Linked DNA regions of Homo sapiens: region 1 is linked to region 2. Evidence: promoter capture Hi-C in 16 types of primary human blood cells and fetal thymus (Javierre and others, 2016). All regions are on one chromosome and are shown on one strand. Each heading gives the region's core, a stretch centred on a gene start or on the middle of the fragment in contact. The rest is flanking DNA. Distances are from core to core; before and after follow the strand shown.

Region 1 (2,700 bases), core at 173-2,672, 2.7 Mb before region 2:
AGGGTCTCTCCAGGGCTTTATAAGGGCACGAATTCCATCATTTGGGTTCTACCCCAATGACCCAATCACCTCCCAAAGGCCCCACCTCCTAATACCTTCACTGTAGAGGTTAGGATTTCAACACATGAATTTTGGGAGAACACAGATATTCAGACCCTAACAGGAACTCTGTTCGTTTTCTGAGCCCACCCCCGGAGACTGGGAATCAGAATGCCAGGTGCATCTCAGGAACTGGTTTTCCCACCCCAGAAGTTCCTAGGTGGCCCCATGCATCTGGCGGTTTGAGGGTTACAGCTCTAGATCATCTGCCCCTTAAGGCCCATCTGGAGTGTCCTGTTTTTCTGGTTACACTGCATTTCCATCCACATTCTGGAAAACCAGCTCCTCTCTCCTGGGCATTTCAGTTTTTGGAGAACTGCCATTTCTTGGAATCGCCTGGTACTGTTCTCCTAGAATGACTTTTCTCATCCTGATGCCTTAGAATTCAGGCTCTTTTTAGAGCTGAATGCCCTCTACTTGACTGTCTTGTCTGTAAACAGAGATCTCATTTTAAAACTCTTCTCTCTGCCAAGCAGTGTGCATAACCATCCTAGGAGAATTTCTGGCCTCTGGGATACTTTTATAAACTGGGAGCGTCATGAACTCTGCCAAGAAACTCTTCATCTGAGGACGCACACTGTACTCGACTCTGCACTTCCCTTGACTTCCCACTCATCCTTCACCTCTCTTGCAGAACGCTGGGGCTTGGGATCCCTCCTTCGGGCTCCAGTACCCCTTGCCCTTGGGTGCCCACTCTTTCCTACGGGATATGTCCACCCCCTCGTCTCTCCTTTAGTTGCCACTTAACTGAAGCAGGTTTTAGCTTCTTTGTGGAGGGAATTATTTTTCCAGAAGTAGTAAAAACAGTTTCCTGTCCTTTCTTGCTATGTTATATTTAGCCTTGTAAATCCTTTTCCAAAGATCGTTGCTTAAGACGTCACTGCATCGAGGTGGCAGGGATTTGTCTCTGTTTTGTTAACATCTGTATTTCCAATACCTGAAGTGATGTAGTTAGTGTTCAGCAAATATTTGTTGAATGAAGAAAAATATCGGGTAAATGAATGGATTTTAAATTTATGGAGTTAAATCCACAGAATCATAGAGTGTTAACATTGGATGTGATGGTAAAGATTCCCCGGTGTCTAATTTACCTTTAAAAAATGGACTTTCTGAGAGAGCACAGTGCTAGTGAGTGACAGAAATTTGGACCATAACCTGGATTTTCCCTCTTCAGTTCCAGTGTTCTCGGGCTAATATTTTTAGGGTTCATGGAAAATGAGAACCTTCCAGAATGACAAGTTATTTATATAGTTTCTTGTACTTCTGCTTCTCCGTGACTTGTGATGTAATAGAAGAGTTAGGAATTGAAATAAAAAGCCTGAGAGGAAACAGATCAAATGGCTAAGGAAGACTTGGGAAAGATACAGTTAATCCTTTGCTCTTTTTGAGTAATATTTTGTGGGTATGTTTCTCTGTCACTCCCGAAGTGTCTTTTGAGTAGTACAGATAGAAATTGCTTAGCTGAATCTGTGCATATTAAATGCAGTTTTAGCTTAGGTTTTTGGTTCTTGCTGGGCAGGCTGTAATGTTTTGGTAGTGGAAAATTTGTTTTCCTGTGTTGTATAGGCTCTATGGTGCAGAGTCCAGGCAGTCATAAAGGGCCTGACGGGATCTTAGTAATGCCCAGGTGCTTCCTTGCAGCAGTGTAGCAGGATGAAACCAAGGAAAAGGAAACTTTACATGCTTTTCTAGGGGATGCTCACTGAACATTGGATGCCAGGTCTTTGATGAAATCGCTAAGATGAATTGCTTTCCTTATTTTTTTTAAATATAATTATTGTACAACTCCCTAAACCACAATTAAAAAAAAAATCTCACTGGAATCAAAGTACAGAGTGATTAATTATTACCTTACCTTTTTTTTTTTTTTTTTTTTTGGTGATGATTGAGTTGCAGTTGTCTGGCCGCCAGGCTATCTGCATTTGATTCTGAAGTTTGTCCTAGACTTTAGCCTTTGCTACCAGTTGTCCTGGGGAAATGGGTGAGGGGCTGTTGGCCCAGCTGTGTGTAAAAGGAGATAGACTTTCTACATTTTTATAAGTTTAATTTAATGAGCCTCCACTGGCGGCGGCACTTTGCATGTGTCATTAAAGATAAACAGTTTTTTAAAATCCCACCTGCCATGTTCTGCAGGATTGGTGGGGAAGCATACACATTTATACTGAAAATTCTTATTTTTCTAGGAAGAGGAATCTATGTTTAGTGTAACTTAGGAAATGACTAGCCTTGTCCTGGTCCTTTAACAAGCCAATCTGCTTGGCATCACCTGGAGGGTAACCTGGGAACAATTCAATTTAAAAACTGCGTTTGTTTTTTAATTATTATTTTTAATTGTGGTAAAATATACCTAACACAATTTACCACCCTTACCATTATTTTTTATTTTTTGTTTTTTATTTATTTTTTTTGAGATGGAGTCTCGCTCTGTCACCCAGGCTGGAATGCAGTGGCATGATCTCAGCTCACTGCAATGTCCACCTCCCGGGTTCAAGCGATTCTCCTGCCTCAGGCTCTTGAATAGCTGGGATTACAGGTGCACACCACCACACCTGGCTAATTTTTGTATTTTTAATAGAGACAGGGTTTCGCCATGTTGATCAG
Region 2 (2,751 bases), core at 141-2,640:
GCAAAGTTCCAGAAAACACAGGATCCAAGGCCGGACACCCGTAGCTTGGTTCATCATTGTTCAAGGGGTCTGTGTTCCCATCTGAGAAAGAGCTTGTGCCTGAAAACGTTCCCACTCTTCTTGGTATCACTCTCTTCAGAGTGGAGAGAAAAAATATCTAGTGTTCTGAGTAAAACATTAAGTTTTCTAAAATCTCTGAAGGTTTAAATGTTGGTATAAAGAACTAAGACAACTAACAAGTGCTTTAAAAATATAAGAGAAAATGTTTCGTAATGGAGAGAACTCAGTCTGACCCGCCAGTTGCAAACAAGGAGAGGTGCAGGAGGTTCGGAACCAGATCATTCCTAGGTTCTGCCGTAAGACAGAGTGCGCCTAGTGTGTGCCTTGCCAGCCTTCCTTAGGAATGCTCTTCTGCTCTTGTGGAAGGTATCCTGTTCCCCAGTGCAGTTGTGGACAGTTACAGCTTTTTTTTTTTTTTTTTTTTTTTGAGACAGAGCCTCGCTCTGTTGCCCAGGCTGGAGTGTGGTGGCACGATCTCGGCTCACTGCAACCTCCGCCTCTCGGTTTCGAGCAATTCTCCTGCCTCAGCCTCCCGAGTAGCTGGGACTACAGGTGCGTGCCACCATGCCTGGCTAATTTTTGTATTTTTAGTAGAGACGGGGTTTCACTATGCTGGCCAGGCTGGTCTCGAGCTCCTGACCTCGTGATCCGCCCACCTCGACCTCCCAAAGTGTTGGGATTATAGGCGTGAGCCACCGCGCCCAGCCAACAGTTACAGCTTTTTATTCTCAGACTTCTCTCAGCTTCCATGTACAGTCTCTCCCTTGAGTAGTGATCTGTTTCAGGCAGCCACAAAGATCCCTACCTAAAACACACTTTTGTTTTGTTTTGTTTTGTTTCATTTTGTTTTTGAGGCAGAGTCTCACTCTATTGCACAGTGGTGCAATCTCGTCTCACTGCAACCTCCACCTCCTAGGTTCAAGCAATTCTCTCGCCTGAGCCTCCTGGGTAACTGGGATTACAGATGTGTGCCACCACACTTGGCTATTTTTGTATTTTTAGTAGAGACGGGGTTTCACCATATTGGCCAGGCTGGTCTCAAACTTCTGGCCTCAAGTGATCCACCCACCTTGGCCTCCCAAATTGCTGGGATTACAGACATGAGCCACCACGTCTGTCAAAAGCACACTTCTTAGGAAGGAATTTGTCTGACAGTGTTAGGAAAACAAAAGCTGTTTCTGCTTGGGAAAATGTTACTGGAGTTTGGATTTTTCCCTCTGTGTTTGATGTGTGTCCTGATAAGAGGTCACAAGTACAGAAGCTGGAAGCATTAAGCTCTATTTCTTTGTCTTCCAGAGGATGTAGGAAGAAGCTGGTCTGCTGACTGTCATACTTGTGACCAGCTTGCACAGGACATGGCCGAGGAGGCAGCCCAGAACATTTCTGATGACCAGGAAAGGTGAGTTATCACTGTTCTCAGAGGGTTTGGTAAGCTTGATTTTAAAGTATGCATTCAGAAATTTTCTTTCAAAAGTCATCACCTCTAGGATGTGGGCTCACTCTGGCACGAGTGGAGGCCCTGTACCAGGAGGGTGCATTTGGCCGGCGGGGTCAGTTCAGAGGTTGGAGTTGGTGTTGAGAATGGAGTTTTTTCCTGAAGGCTTTTGAGAAGACTCCTCCAAGCGGATGCCTTCAGCCATGAGAAGTGCTGATTGCTCTTCCTGCAAATGCAGGATACCTTCCAAGTTCGAGGACTTTCTGCTGCCTGGTAGTAGACAAAGTTAAGCTATCTGCTTGTCTGCTAGGTCCCTTGCATGGAGACCAGGAGAAACCTGGCACAGGAAGAGATCATGGGGTCTTGGCCCAGGGGTCTTATTTCTTTTTTTTTGAGACGGAGTCTCTCTCTGTTGCCCAGGCTCGAGTGCAGAGGTGCGATCTTGGCTCACTGCAAGCTCTGCCTCCTGGGTTCATGCCATTTATCCTGCCTCAGCCTCCCAAGTAGCTGGGACCACAGGCGCCCACCACCACGCCCGACTAATTTTTTGTATTTTTAGTAGAGACGGGGTTTCACTGTGTTAGCCAGGATGGTCTCGATCTCCTGACCTTGTGATCTGCCCGCCTTGGCCTCCCAAAGTACTGGGATTACAGGCATAAGCCACCGCACCCAGCCTCCATGGGTCTTATTTCTAAACCCTCTTCCCCATGCTCTGTGCGCGCCAGCACCCATGTGTTGTTGAGGCTGGGCAGCCTGTGTGCTCTGCTGTTGACTGTCTCATGGCAGTGTGACATGGTGCAAACCTCCATGCCCCCTTTCCTGGGCGTGAGGCCAGCAAGGTGACCTGCCTGTGGGATGTGGTAAGGACCCAGGTGGGTCACCGCTGTCCCCTGGCCTGGCATGATGGGAGCCTGTGCCTGCAGATCTTGCCCAGTGGGGTACCCCGCCACTGCAGGTCACTTTACCTCCTCACCCCCAGATTTCTCATCCTGAAAATCTGAGTACCCCTGTTGTCACATCTGTAAACTCCAGAGGGTCGTTATAAAAATCAGTATCCTTGATGAATGCTTGCTGTCAGCATTTCTGCCTTTGTTAGCTTACTGTCTTTGTGCCATCACCATCATTTTATCAAAGAAACCCAAAGCAAACCAGGATGAGAAAATGAGGCTGCACGTGTTGACGGGGTTGGTCACATTCATGCTTGGAAATTTCTTTGCCTTATGTCACTCACTGCTGCCAAGCATTGTCTGATTTTG

What was found. The method cuts DNA at HindIII sites, captures the fragments that hold promoters and counts their contacts. A CHiCAGO score of 5 or more calls a contact.
Region 1: a fragment that was not itself captured here is called in contact with the fragment with the promoter of PKD1L1 in region 2 in 2 of 17 cell types (naive CD4 T cells and total CD4 T cells); the score reaches 7.0 in naive CD4 T cells.

Annotation. Positions count from the first base shown.
Region 1 is chr7:50,683,544-50,686,243 of GRCh38, reverse strand. The region is part of intron 5 of GRB10 (growth factor receptor bound protein 10); the gene reads left to right. Among named protein-coding and RNA genes, the nearest start is that of GRB10, 98 kb to the left of the region's middle. The HindIII fragment of the contact is 3,820 bases long and covers 1-2,700 here.
Region 2 is chr7:47,947,105-47,949,855 of GRCh38, reverse strand. PKD1L1 (polycystin 1 like 1, transient receptor potential channel interacting) reads left to right here and starts at 1,390. Exons shown (of 57, transcript NM_138295.5): 1 at 1,390-1,459. The coding sequence starts at 1,416. The HindIII fragment of the contact is 5,981 bases long and covers 1-1,495 here.